2 separate regions of the Homo sapiens genome follow, and region 2 is linked to region 1. The links are contacts of gene promoters, found by promoter capture Hi-C in blood cells and fetal thymus (Javierre and others, 2016). All regions are on one chromosome and are shown on one strand. The core of a region is centred on a gene start or on the middle of the fragment in contact, and the rest is flanking DNA. Distances in the headings are between cores, read along the strand shown. Region 1 holds the start of IKZF3 (IKAROS family zinc finger 3). Region 2 overlaps IKZF3 (IKAROS family zinc finger 3).

The links. Contacts are between HindIII fragments. The CHiCAGO score rates a contact against its expected background, and 5 or more counts as called.
Region 2: a fragment that was not itself captured here is called in contact with the fragment with the promoter of IKZF3 in region 1 in 1 of 17 cell types (total CD8 T cells); the score reaches 5.1 in total CD8 T cells.

What each region holds. Positions count from the first base shown.
Region 1 is chr17:39,860,913-39,868,459 of GRCh38, reverse strand. IKZF3 (IKAROS family zinc finger 3) reads left to right here and starts at 4,148. Exons shown (of 8, transcript NM_012481.5): 1 at 4,148-4,340. The coding sequence starts at 4,334. ZPBP2 (zona pellucida binding protein 2) reads right to left here and starts at 258. Exons shown (of 8, transcript NM_199321.3): 1 at 54-258. The coding sequence starts at 105. RefSeq lists enhancers at 899-978, 3,390-3,449, 3,510-3,579, 4,307-4,396, 4,407-4,526 and 2 more and a silencer at 989-1,204. The HindIII fragment of the contact is 8,560 bases long and covers 1-6,269 here.
Region 2 is chr17:39,809,247-39,816,793 of GRCh38, reverse strand. All of the region lies in intron 3 of IKZF3 (IKAROS family zinc finger 3), which reads left to right. Among named protein-coding and RNA genes, the nearest start is that of IKZF3, 51 kb to the left of the region's middle. The HindIII fragment of the contact is 3,707 bases long and covers 2,607-6,313 here.

The sequences.
Region 1 (7,547 bases), core at 2,899-5,398:
CGGGAAGCTCGGGCAGAGGGAGAGGCCTGGGGACCGGGTGGAGGGAGCCCCACCTCCTGTGAGGCACCAGAGCACCGCGGAGAGTAGGACGCACGTTCGCATCATCGCTCAGGGGCTGGCGTCGCAGGAGGCGTCGAGGGACAGACTCCCTCCTACCTCAGCCCTGGCCCAACACCTCCCCACCTCCTCCACAGTGCGGAGCAGAACGCCGGGGTCGCCTCCCCTACCCGTCCGTCGCAACGGCGGGAGCGGACGCGCAGGAGAACGCGTGCGTGCTTCGATTCTCGCGCGCGGGGGCGGGGCGACGGCGCTGCAGGCGATCGCCAGATCCTCTGGCGCCCACGCGGCAGCAGGCATGCGAACTTTTCGCGCCTCGCGTCCGGCGCCATTTTCCCGCGCTCCTGGCCCCTTGCTCTCTGAGCGGAGCGGAAGGCAGGAAGAGAATAAAGGAAAAGAAGCCACGGTGTCGCGTTCCGGGGATTCCCCAGTCTAGGGGCCGAAGGGATCAAGGAGAGAACACCGCGAGGTCCCAAGGACCGTGGTGGGGTAGGGCGGCTAGGGGATGCGATGAGGAATCCCCTAGGAAGGGGACCTGAGGAAGGCAGAGACTTGTGACAATTTCCTCCTCACGTGAAGCAGAAAGGCCCGCGTGGGGATTTCCTACGCCTCTCTTCTCATGAACGCTGAAACTGGGTGTCGAATCTCTTTCAAACTGACACGCGATTTTTACCTAATTGCATTCTTTACCAGCAAGACCAAGACCCAGAAGAGCCACTACTGAGCCAAGAAGGCGCTTCCGGGCCTTCCCACTCTAGAGGAACGTTGAATCTTCATTTTCACTTCAAGTATGAGGCGATGTGAGAGACCTCCCCCAGTGCAAACGTATCTAGGTTGATGAAGTGACCTTGCTTTAAAAATGGGCCCAATTGTAAGGCCCATTGGCCTTTTCTGTAGGGATGGAGCCCGATTGGCCTTTTCTGTAGGGATGGATGACTAGTCAAGATCGGGGAGCTCCAAAGGGGATCATGCCCGCGTCTTTGATGGTTCCTTCTTGGCTACTAGTTTGGTGGCCCGAAAGGCCCTGTGTGTTGTCTGTTTCTTAGCAGCGGGACACCACTCTCAGTAGTGGTTTTGAGTAGGCTGGTTAGTAGAGAGAGCCCAAGGTTCAGACAGGGTGCAGAATGGTTATTTTGGGTGAGATCAAGAGTTTTCGGTTTTATTTCCTTTGAGCCGAGTCAGTACTTGGACTCTCTCATATGGTCCAGGAGCAAACTTTGTCAGTAATTTCATTTTTAGTCACTGTTAATTTTACCTATATAGCATAAGCCATGAAATGTGACTCAGTGAGTCAGATCCACCCATTTTCAGTTACCATGTCTGGATACATGGTCTGGTCTCAACTGTTCTCTTCTTAAGGTGATGATAATGAAGACAGATTTAGGCATTATCTTTGATTCCCTACAAGTTCTTCATTCCAGTTTTAGTCAAAGTACATTATATATCCACAGTGTGTTTTATTGACTTTTTGGTTACTGTAAGTAATTGATAGTTGTAAATCCTGTGTGATAAACTAAATCCTATGAGAGGAGACTTAACCAAATGAGTAATAGTTGTCAAAAGTACCCATCCACTCTTTTTATATAAACTTTTTATTTTAGAAGAGTTTTAGATTTGCAGAAAATTTGCAAAAACAGTACAGAGAGTTTTTACATACTCCCTCCCGATTTTCCCTATTATTGACATCTTACATTGGTATGGTACATTTCTTACAATTAATGAACGGATATTGATATATTACTATTAACTGAAGTCCAAACTTTATTCAGATTTCCTTAGTTTTTTACTCAATGTCCTCCCTACCTCGTTTGTTTTTTTGCTCCAGGATCTCATGCGGGATCCCACATTACCTATAGTCATCGTATCTCCTTAGATTCCCCTTGGCTGTGTCAGACTTTTCTTGTGTTTGAAGGTCTTGACCTGGCTTTAATTGGTGAGGTATTTTGTAGAATGCCTCTCTACTGGAATTTGGTGTCTTTCTCCATATTAGACTAGAATTATGGATTCTTAGGAGGAAGATTACAGAGATAAAATGACATTCTCATCACATCATATCAAGGGGACATACTATCAACATGCCTTATCACTTGATGTTAACCTTGGTCTGCTGGCTGAGGTACTGTTTGTCAGGTTTCTCCACTGTCAACTTATTCCCCTGCTTTCATACTATACTCTTCGGAAGGAAGTCACTTTGTGCACCCACACTTAAAGAGTGGGGATTTATGCTGCATCTCCTTGAAGGTGGAGTAGCTACATAAGTTATTTTACCAATTCACTTTTAATCCCCTTAGGTATCACTCTCGGGAGTCCGAAATACTCAGTATTGAACTATTTACAGAGTACTAACACGTTCCACTGTCAAATATACAGAAGAACATTGTAATGGAAAATCATAAAGTTTCCTTACAACTTTTTTTTTTTTTTTTTGAGACGAAGTCTCACTCTGTTGCCCAGGCTGGAGTTCAGTGGCAAGATCTCGGCTCACTGCAACCTCTGCCTGCTGGGTTCAAGCGATTCTCCTGCCTCAGCCTCCTGAGTAGCTAGGATTAGAGGCATGCGCCACCACGCCCAGCTAATTTTTGTATTTTTAGTAGAGACAGTATTTTGCCATGTTGGCCAGGCTGGTCTCGAACTCCTGACCTCGTGATCCACCTGCCTTGGCCTCCCAAAGTGCTGGGATTACAGGCGTGAGCCACTGCGCCTGGCCTACAACTTTTTCATAACCAAATAACTTTTCATCCTCATACCATCCCTGTGAAATTTTACAGTTCCTCTTCTGCTACTTTTGATGTGCTATTTTTGCTTTTAGAAACTAACAAACAACAAATTTCCCCTTTCAGTACTAAAATTAGACCTAGTGTTTAGAGTATTTCTCCAAAATTGACATCCTGCAGAACTCCCAACTCATACAGTTATAGAGATGCTACTGTGGTGCTTAAAGCCAGTGTAGTTTTTCACCCACTTGAATATATATACACACATCACATAGACTGCCTATACCAACGACATACTATTGTTTAAAGCTACAATTCATAAAATTACAGCATGTATACTTTAACTTGTAAGTGTGGGTTTCTTCTGATATGGACAGCTGATGCACAAACCCTCAGCCTTAAGTCTCAAATATATTTGTATGCACTAATATAATTTTCTAATAGCGGTGACAGTGGCCTTTTGAGACTCATTCGTATATTGTCCCACACGCTGGATATCTTTAGAAGGGCTCACCTGAACAATGTCCCTTAGACCTCAATGTGAAGAAAAGTTCTGCTTTGAAAAACAGTTTTGTGGTCACTTCCCCTTTCCTCTCTCTGCAGTCAAATGTGTGCTTTACCTCTGGACAGTAGGGAGGGTGTTGGGAGAAGATGTTGACTGATACATATCTGTATACTAACATCTTTAAGTTAATTTTACAATCTTACTGCCCCCACCTTCCACCCTTAGCTCTACTTTCTTTGCTTAATTTTCTGGTACATCATATATGTATTTTTGTAAGGTGTGTATTTAGAAGAAGGCAGGCTGGGAGAAAATAAACACACTCTATAAAACACTCCCTCTATTTATATAGAGTGGGTAGTATTGCGTGAGTGGTGGCAAATAAATCAAGCAGTTCCCAGAGGGAAAACAAAAGTGAGATAAATGCTTCCAAAAATTAAAAAGTTGAATTGATAGAAGTGCCAAAATCCTTTCCAACTGTCTGAAAACTTGGACCAAAAACTTTTACCATGTGAAATGAAAAAGTGAGGAAGGAAAAAAAAATACTTTGAAAGAAGGGGGTTCTCATTGATACTTTCCACGGCTGTTATCACTGAATCTAGACAAAAAGTTCCAGATCTTCCTCAATTTAAGATAAACGTCTTTGAACTTCAGCTTGCCAAGAAAGCAAGGCTGACCCCCGACCCTCCGTGTGATGTCACTTTTCTCATCCATTATCCTTCTAAAATAGACATTTTGAGACAATTTAGTGATGCGACATTTCCATCCTGTCGGGGTTCCTTGGGTTTGACATTCGAAAGGGGGCTGGAGGCGCGGAACCCGCGGCACTCCGCGGCCAGCGTCCTTTAAAGCCGCCGCCAGCCAGCGCCGCTGTAACCCCGCGCACCGGCAGGTCGCCGGCTCCTGCCCTTTTCAGTCTGCGCCGACGCGGCTGCCGGATCCCGGGGACTCCCCGCGCCGGGAATCTCCCGCCAGCTGCGCGCTGAGTCCAGGCGACGGCAGGAGCACGTGGAGAGGCCGAGTAGCCACAGCGGCAGCTCCAGCCCGGCCCGGCAGCGACATGGAAGGTGAGCCTCCAGCCCGCTTCTTTTCTCCGGGGTCTTTGAGAAACTTAACCTGTGCAAGCAGTAGAAAGAGTTTCTTCTGAATCTCAGTTTTGCTTCTATTTACTTCTTTTGTCAAAAGTAAATATGAGGTATTTCAGAGGACAAAGCGCGTCGGTTCTCTTAACGTCTCTCACTTGTCCTTCCCCCGCCCTTTGGAAAGTGATAACTTCTTCGCAATTTTATTTCTAAAGAGTTGTCAGACATGGGGGGTCTACCCTACATCTGCAGAGGAAGAGCACTTAAGGGGTGTCCCTGAAATGGCTGCAAATCTGGGGTGGAATAATCAACCCTTTTGGATATTTTTTCCTTCATGGCCTCAGTGTTTATTGGAATTAGACTAATCTGAGTAACTTGTTTTCTTCCAAGGGTAAATGGTGTCATATGGGAAAGGTACATTTTAAAGCGGTTGGCATTTGCAGTTCCCTTGGAACTCGATCTTCTAATGAGTCTTCTTTACCCAGCGCAAAAAATCAGGTTCACATTAGGAGTTTCATATGAATTAATTTTGAAAGTCGTAACACTATCCTTGCTTCTCAAACATTTTTCATTCTGTACTTCCTTGGGATACCTAAAATTTCACACTGCTACTGTAAACTCTTCAATGGTCTTTTCAACAAGTGTTTCTAAAACCTTGAAAATGGCAAATGCATCTCAACTCGGGGGGGGATGGTGGGATTAAGAAATTCAGAATTTCATTCTATTAAAAATGAGATATTGACACCTAACTAAAATGTTACTTTGATAAATATGAAGATCGTGGGTATTTTCTTCATAATAATGGAAGAATCTCTAATTAACAATGAACTGATCTTTGGCAGCTTTATTTCTAGAGTATATAAAGTTGTTAAAATATCAAAAACTTTATGCTTTTAATTTTTTTAATTAGGGCTTGAAAACTTTAAAAATTTTGCATTTTTAACATTTAAATAATGGTTTATTGAAGTGTAATTTTTAACAAAGGTTTTATTGGCCAATAACAAGGAAAAAAAGTTGGGCTGTTGTATACTATGGGAAAAATAATTTTTGAAAAGCTCATATGCTTTAATTATTACAAATGATTAATTTGTTTTTATGAAATTATAAATCAGTACTCCAACACTATTTTTCCTAGCCGTAACCATACCACGTATCAAGGATAATGTACAGAATCATGTAAATCCATAGAAACTGGAGTATTTCTCTATAAATGTTAATACTTCCAAATTCATTTATTTAATGTGCAATAAAGAAACTAAATAGCATATCTTAGGTTATTGGTGTACTAACACAGATGTTTAATAAGCCTGAAGACTCCCTTAAGAAGAAAAGAATGAAAACTTGTGTAGAATTTAATTTAGAGTGTGTAGACTATAAATGGAAAGAGAATGTAGATCAATAACTTTTTAAAGTTGTGTTTACATGATTAGATTAAATCTATAGGTCCATGGAGATAGATAGTATAGATTATGCTTAATGAAAAAACTTTAACATTTAAATTTTAAAAAGAGGTTAATTATATGAATTTGGCTATTTTAATGTCAGGTCCTTGCGTATAGAGTATTTGATGTGGTAAAATATCTGGTTCATTATAGCTACCCAAAATAGACTAATCTGGCCCATGTTTTTGATATTTAAAAAATTTTTATATCATCTTGTGGTTTTGATCTCAGTCTAGATTAGAGATTTGGTCTATAGTGTATACCTCTCTTGGCAATGTAAGAAAGTAGAATACTTCATGGAATACCTTTATTTTCTGCCCAATTTGGGGGTCACATTGATTCATAACAGTTTATTGTACAATGCAATACTGTATATCATTCCTTCAGCATATAAAGTCATTTAACAAATTCATTTATCTTTTAATTAATTTATTGAGACTTTCTATGTATGAAGATGTCAGATGAATAAGCTTTTGAAATAGAAATCTTGTAGAAATGAAGATTTAATGAATATACTAAAATCAGAAGCTATAACTTTTTAATTTTCTCACAATCTGTGACCTTAAATATTTTCTACCCAAAGACTGTTTATGAATCACTAAATTTTATTATTTGTACTATAACATCTCTTCTGTCTGTTATGGTCGGGAAATGAGGTGGTTCACAAACATGAATTTCACAGGTAATGGCAGACTTCTTATTTAATGTAAAACATTTTTATTTTTAACAATATTGAGTAAAGATTTTTCTAAGTATATTTATTACACAGCTCCCTGCTTTATAAGCAAGGTACATAAGAGATAAGTTTATCTCGGCAACTCTGAGTTACTGTTCTCACCATCAGATCATATATTATTCCATAATATATTCTCACAGGGGTTTTGAGCTGAATGCCCCTACACCAAACATACCTAGGATATTGTACAATTTTTGTCTCCTTCTTGATGTCAGCTTATATTTCTTACCACATAGATTTTGTGGTAGTAGGGTTTTGTTTCAGGTCCCTTTCCATGTTCTGGATGGCTGAGATTAACAGAGATAAAGCCTGTAGATGATGGAATCTGTTTGCCCTCCATTGTGAGCGTATGGAGGATGAAATGCGAAGGTTTTAAGAAACAAAAGCCACAGAAAGGCCGTGGCGTCCTGGTAGAACATAATTTTTCAAAATTCCTGTTTGTACTTCCTTTAATCCAGTATGCTATTTCATGCTTCCATGTCTTTGCTATTATGTTCACCCATTCTCTACTTGCTTATGCCTACTCATCTTTCAAGACTCTGCTCAGGCATCATCGCCATGAAGGCTCTCTGATGACCTTCTTCTGATGACCTCCTCCTAGTGCCTTCTGGTGATCACCCCTACCCAGTCTCTCATGTTCCTTCACCTCAGCTAAGGGCCTCTCCTTTCTGTGTATACTTCTACCACATTGTGTTGAAATTATTTATTGATGTAGGTGTTTATTCCCCCTCTGGTCTTTAAGCTTCTGGAGAACAGAGACTGTGTCTTGTTTTTGTACACTGAATGCGAAGGACAGTTTCTGGTTCATAGAAGGCCCTCAGAATTTGTTGCATTCAATTAAAATAGTGCTGAAAAAGTACTTTTTATTATGTTTATTGTGATGCATTTTATTTAAATAAATTTTTAAAGTAGGAGATTGGGGCTAGTAATTCTTTGATAAAGCTCAGTAATTTTTTAAGCACTTAAACTGTATAATTGAAAAAGAAAGCTTGGAAAACAAAAATGTTATTGGAT
Region 2 (7,547 bases), core at 3,211-5,710, 52 kb after region 1:
TCCAGCAATGAGCTGAGATCGTGCTCAAGCCTGGGCGACGGAGTGAGACTCTGTCTCAAAAAAACAAAAACAAAACAAACAAAAGTATTAACTTTGAACATAAATACGCTTGCTTGTGATCCCACAGACATTGTGGTAATTTTTTACAGTATATTCCCAGGAGCCTAGTGCAGGTATTGGCAAACTTTTTCTGTAAAGGACCAGATAGTAAATATCTTAGGCTTTGTGGGCTATACAATCTCTGTTGCATCTTCTCAACTCTGCCATTGCAAGGTAAGACAACTGTAGAAGATACATAAATGAATGTGAGTGGCTTTGTACCAATAAAACTTTATTTACAAAAATAGGCAGTGGGTTGGATTTGACCTGCAGGCCATAATTCCCTTACTCCTAACCTAGTGTATACATTTATTGTATGATGAGTTAAGAAAAGATTTGGCACTTGAAAGGAACAGTGTTTGTGTAACCATTTCAAAAGGGCATCAGTGAGGATTCTAATACTATTATTTTAAAAATCAGAAAAATATATATCACTAACAGCTTTTTATCACATGCATGTATAGTTGATATAGCTCTATTTACATAAATTAATTAGACATAAATAAAACCATATGTAGACTAAATGTTGTGTTACCATTTAGTTGGTTTTCTCCTTTATTCCTGAAAATTTAAATCTAACAAGCACTGGCAAATATTTACATCAACTCAAGTTTATTTCCTCCAGGAGGCCTTTTTATACTATCCCACCTTCCACAGTGTGGTCTCAGAGCTGAATTTTTAAGAGTATGTTTAGTTAGTACTTATTTAAACACGTAATTATATTCTGTTCGAAATTGTTTGTGCATGACAAGGTTTCACCCCATTATATCATAAACTTTTTGAAAAAAGAAGCCCTAACCTATATTTACATCTTTCTAAGAATACTTACCTATGAAGTGATATAATCCAACCAGTTTGGAAAGCAGAAGAAATGAAGAAATTCAGAGTTCTTTTTCTAGCCTGCTCATTCACTCTTATGAACAATTATTATTTCTCTTCCTCTTAGTGACCAACTGTAACTATCTTCAGACTGATCTTGAGCCATAGGAAATAACCCAGAGATCCCCAAGTCTTTATTTTTGTTTAGCATCCAATGAGTGCTGGGAATATCACAGCCACTTTACTGAATACAAAAGATTTGGGACCTTCTACTTGGATCTAAAATGTCAGCAAGATACTGTGATGTCAAAAGCAAGAGTTAAAACAATTTTATAAAATATCATGAGAAAGAATATTATTGTTGCTTATATCTTGGCCTATGATCACAGAGCAACTAAAAAATAAAAACCTCTGAGTATCAAGGCTAGAGGGAAGATGTGTTTCATGCTAGTGTACTGAGGGATATTAACTAGGTAGAGATAAGACTCGAGATGGTGGAATGTCATCCCAGCAAGGCAATTGTCATGCACAAACAATTTCAGAGAGAATGTAATTAGGTGCTTAAATTAGTGGAAAAGACATGGCCTTAAGGCCTGAACGACTGAAATAGAACTCTTGCGACTTTTTGTTTCAGTCCTTCTTCCTCTGAAATTGGATTCCCGTCTTTGCCATTTCCCACTTAGAAAATAGAAGGAAAGGTTCTGTCATGAGCATGTATATGTTATGAGGGTATGATGCATTTGCCGATAGTATTTTTTCCTCTTTGAATAGCTGAGGAATAAAAGTTGGGCTACTGACCCCCTGTATTTAACACTCTACTGGCCCCCTATTTTTCAGCAGCCCCCATCATCCACTATCTCTATTTACACAAGCCATTTGTTCTGGAGCTGCTGTAGGGGTAAAAAGTACACACGATACCTCGATACCCATCAACACTAGCTGTTTACCCTGCCTGAGTTGCACATTTACCCTCTGTCTTAGTTTTCCAGGGCTTCCATAATAAATTACCACAAACTGGGTGACAAAACACCAGTTTGTCACAAAGCAACAGAAATTTTTTACTATTCTGGAGGGTAGAAGTTCAAAATTAAGATGTCAGCAGGACCATGGGAAGGGCCTAGGGAAGAGTTCTTTTTTGCCTCTTTCTGGCTTCTGGTGACTTCCAGCAATGCCTGGTGTTCCTTGGTCATGGCAGCATAACTCTAATCTCTGCCTCCATTGTCACGTGGGCTTCATCTCTGTGGGCATCTCCTGTTTCTGTCCTCCTCTAGGGAGACTAGTCATTGGATTTAGGGCCTACCCTAATCCAGTGTGACCTCATCTTAACTAATTACATCTACTATGACGATATTTCCAAATAAAGTCACATTCTGAGGTTCCAGGAGGACATGAATTTAGGAGGGACACTATTCAACACAGTACACCCTTCATCTCCTGGCTCTGTAACTAAATATCAAATAGACCCAATACCCATCATGAAATAGATTTCTTTTTTAATTAATTGTGCAGTGGTGATCAATCGGTGTATGTATTTAATTACTTCCATTCTGTACAAGCTATGGGTCTTGCCTGATTCCAAGAGAAAAGTTGAATTTGATCACTTTTGAAAGGCCTTATATTTTCTCCATTGTGACATCTTGTGCAGTGTAGATGCTTAGATCAAAGATAAGAACTTTAATTAGAAAGCTTGCTGAAAAAAATAATTCTTCTTCCCCTTAGGAGAAATAACTCCCATCTTCAGTAGCTTCCCATGGCATAGTCTCGGTCCCTTTTGAGGTGTACAACTCTTTGGTGCTTAGAAGAAGTACAAACTACTTTGATGCTTCTGAAAGGGGAAAAAAAATTAAGCCACATGTGTGGTTTATGGATGCTAATTACCGCCACATTTAGATGTGTGAAGAAGGGTGGCTGGAGCGAGCTGGGAGAGACCGCGTCAGCCTCGCTTAGGCACTCGCTGAGGCTCCCGCGGTACTGCTTAGTACACGCAAATATATGCTTCAAAAGGAAGTGCCGTTTTTTATCAAAATATTACATCTCTCAAGCCCAGATCAAGACCTGTCACTCATGGGATGCAGGGGTTATCTTACAAAATCAGCAGTGCTGTGCTGCAGAAGTTCACTCACAGGGGATTTCTGTAAGTGCTTACCATGGGCAGAGCTTTACAGCTTGTACTGTGTCAAACGGGTAAGTTCTGTTGATGATAAAACCAAGACATCTCTCCCTGAATCTTTTTTTTTTTTTAATCACGCTGTCACCCAGGCTGGAGTGCAGTGGCACGATCTCGGCTCACTGCAGCCCCAACCTCCCAGGCTCAAGTGATCCTCCCACCCGAGACTCCAGAGTAGCTGTGACTACAGTTGCATGCCACCATGCATGGCTAATTTTTTTTTTTCTGTAGATACGGGGTCTCGCTATGTTGCCCAGGCTAGTCTCAAACTTTTGGACTCAATCAATCCTCCTGCCTTGGCTTCCCAAAGTGCTGGGATTACAGGTGTGAGCCACTGTGCCTGGCCCTTGAAACTTTTTAACAGAAAACATCTCTGGATTTTCTTTTCTTCTTTTTTTTTTTTTTCATAACTAAGCTGCGTAGCACAGCAAACTAAAAGGAATGTGTAGGAAGATATTTGACATCTGCCAAAGAGCCACAGACAGTTGCAATGGTTAACAGAAAAATGGGGCTGCCCACTGTCCTTAGTGGATCCTCTGGAGAGTTTTCTCCCTTCTTTTTGCATTCTTTTTATTTATTTATTTATTTATTTATTTATTTATTTTTTGAGATGGAGTCTTGCCCTGTCGCCCAGGCTGGAGTGCAGTGGTGCGAACTGGGCTCCCTGCAAGCTCCACCTCCCGGGTTCACGCCATTCTTCCACCTCAGCCTCTAAAGTAGCTGGGACTACAGGCGCCCGCCACCACACCCGGCTAATTTTATTTTTGTATTTTTAGTAGACACGGGGTTTCACCGTGTTAGCCAAGATGGTCTTGATCTCCTGACCTCGTGATTTGCCCACCTCGGCCTCCCAAAGTTCTGGGATTACAGGCGTGAGCCACTTCGCCCTGCCTCTTTTTGCATTCTTTGTCTGTTAAGCAGTAGTGTTGGTGCCTCCTTCCAGCTGGATTAAGAGAACGCATGAAACACCCTTATGTGCCTGCTAACTTTCATAGCAGCTTTTCTTGCCAAGTGAGTTCTGCTTCTCAAATAAACTTTGGCACCAGGCACGGTGACCCGAGCCATTGTGTACCTTGGTGCCATTTGATAGCTAGAGGAAGGTACCCTGCTGAGGGATAAATGAGGAGTCCCAGTGGTGTGCCAGAATCAGCTCATAGCTGCTTGTTAAATTTTCAACAATTTTGTATGCTGGCTGACTCCATGATGGTAGCTTGAAATTGGCCATGGTGGAGTATTTATACCACTGAAATCAGCAAATGCCACAAATAAGCCCTTCCCCGATCCTGAGCTGGTTGTTAAGCAATTACCAGAACACCACTGGACTGAAGACTGAACAAAATCCTGTCCTGGCTCATCAGAACTATCAAATTTTTTGTAATTTGTCAGCCCAAAGGGATTTTGGGTTTTGGGTGTTCTGTTTTGTTTTTGTTTTTGTGTTGTAGTTTGCATGAAAGAGAATAGTGTCGGAGACAAGAAGAGTACATGAGCTCTCTCCACAACATAGTAGATGGGATCCCGAAATTTTATCTTGTAAAATATGGGGGTCATATTATTGCAAGTAAATGAAATATAGTAGGTGGTTTTGTGTTTTGTTTTGTTTTTAATATACTGTTACAAAAAGCACAAAGCAATGACAGTGAAGTTTAAACTGGACACAATTGTAAACCTTAAAAGACCCAAATGATCTTGAAGCAATTACTTCCTATCCATTCCCATAAGAACTTTAGCTTGCTCTTGTCTGAGAAGTGGGCAAGGGTAGACAACTGGAGGCAATCAGCAATCCTTTTACATCCAAATTTGTACACATTGTATTGTGGCAGGGTGTTATTGTACTTGATTGTGTCCCAAAGACATGGCAAGAACAGTCTTTTATAGTTGTGTTCTTTTGTGCCAAAGTTCTGGGAATATAGTAAATGCTCAGTGTTTATCCATTTTTCTTTCTGCCTTTCCATCCAACCATCCATTCATCCATTTATCCCCTGCAGTGTTCACAAGTGCTCACTAAATAATTATTGGTTCATTAACTAAAGTGAAGAACAGCATGTGAGTACATTTTGGCATTGGGGTCTTTTATTTTAGTAGTGTTCTTGAAATGCTGGGAAAACTTTCCAAGGATTGCATGGGATAATTTTAAGAGAATCAATTTCCAGGTCCGCAACTTCAGTATATTCTCTGCCCTTCTTCCTAAAACTGATCTGCCTAGAAGACTGCTGCCATTGAGCTTGCTTGCTTTTTCTTTTCTTTCTTCCTTTCTTTCTTTCTTCCTTCCTTCCTTTCCTTCCTTCCTTTTCTTCCTTCCTTTCTTCCTTCCGTCCTTTCTTCCTTCCTTCCTTCCTTCTTTCTTTCCCTTTCTGTCTTTCTTTCCCTTTCTTTCTTTCTTTCTTTCTTTCCTTCTCTCTTTCTCTTTCTCTTTTTTTATTTCCTCCCTTTCTCCCTCTTTTTCTTTCTCTCCCTCTCTTTCTTTCTTTCTTTCAGACAGGGTCTTGCTCTGCTGTCCAGGCTGGAGTGCAGTGGTGTAATCACAGTTCACTGTAGCCTTGACCTCGTGGGCTCAAGCAATACTTCCACCTCAACCTCCTGAGTAACTAGGTCTACAGGCACCCACCACCATGCCCTGCTAATTTTTTAACTTTTTGTAGAGGGGTCTCACTGTGTTGCCCAGGCTGGTCTTGAACTCCTAGACTCAAGTGATCTTCTCGCCTTGGTCTCCCAAATTGCTGAGATTACAGGCATAAGCCACCATGCCCAGCCTTCCTTCTCCACTTTATAAAAGAAAAGAACATTTCTCACCCACCTCTAAGGTGTAAGTACTTCCAAGATGCCAAACAAAGGATCAATTAGATAATTTCTTTTATCAAATTTTCATAACTTATTTCCTCTCTATCCTTCTCATTAGGAGATACAGTCCCAATAAATTTTACTTTTTGTATTTGGTAATTATTGATCAAATTATAATATACCTATATTGTTTTACTCAATTGTATGTTAATAATTGTAATGCTAATTCAATCCAGAAGAAAACACATTTTGACACATAGCACTTCATGTTAACAAAAGTAACTATATTTTATTGGGTTTTTTTTTTTTTTTTTGCTGCAGATACATATAATGGGATGAACAATAGATGACTCAAGCATACAAGAGTACTACATTAGGAGAAAATTCCATGGGGGTAGTGAAATGGAAATAGAAGTTCAAAGAGAAATTTCCTGACTTTCTTGAAAAGCTTACTTATGTATTTTTAAATTCATGATGGAGTAAATTAAATCACAAATATGTATATATTCCTAAGTAGATACATTTGAAAGGGTGTGGTAATGGTTTAAACTATCATTATTTACAATACACAAACTGTATTCTTTTGTTTAAAAATAGTTAAACTCATGATGAAAAATTATAGATGTCAACTTAGTATGTACTTAATGTCCACTATGTATAAGAGAGATATATAATTTTTCAAAATTCTTTTGAGGATGCTTGAGCAAAAAATTTGAAAAATGCCAACCACTATTATATGAAGTTTACAAAATATAACACAGAGGTGTCTTTAAGCCTGAGCCTATTTAAAGGCCTGAGGCAGAGATTCTCAACCTGAGATCTCAGGGTTTGAGAAATCAATCAATAGTATGTGAAATTTCGTGTTTATGGGCATGTGTACCTTTTTCTGGGCAAAGAGTACAGTTCTCAAAGATGTTCACAACCTAAAAAAGATTAAAAAGATCTGACCAAAGCATGTAAAGTCTTAAGAAACTTGACTTTGCTGTTTTCATAATAGTTTCATATGCACTGGCATGTGGAATTGCTTCCAACATAAACAATTTTGGTTCAGTTGTTTGTATATAAAATAATACTAATTATGAAAAATAATGAAAGATTCAATCTCCCTTTCTTCATCATCATCCTGAAATCTATGTCAATCTTTTAATTTTATTCCTTGCTTATTCAGAGGCCTTTTCTTTTCTTAATTTTGATGGAGAAAATTACAGGTGCTTCATCCATAGAAAAATGCTGAATGGAAATGTGGAAAACAGTTTTTAAAAGAATAGACATCATCTGCCCCTGACAGTTGTGTCTTGCGGTTTCTTCCAGGATCTAATCAGCAGTCTAGCAATAGGTTGACATAGTATTCAGGCTTAGAATTAGGAAAATTACATTTGGAAGTGACTAATAACACAGTACTTTCAAAGCTTTGGATTTTAAAGCGTCACACACACAGCAGGTGAATGAAGATGTCAGAGCCAGGCCTAAAGGAGCACCCTGGTAATCCAGCCCTTGGTGTATAACCTTCAAACACCAATAAACAAGATTATCTGGGTTTAACATGTGACCTTTCTCATTTTGACTGGTAGGTCCAGATGTTTTCTCGTTTAGCTGCCTGGTTGAAATCTGCTTTAACTGACTGCATTTGGATCTAGATTTGAGGTTGCAGGAATGACAGTCTTGAAAACTACATTCTGCACTG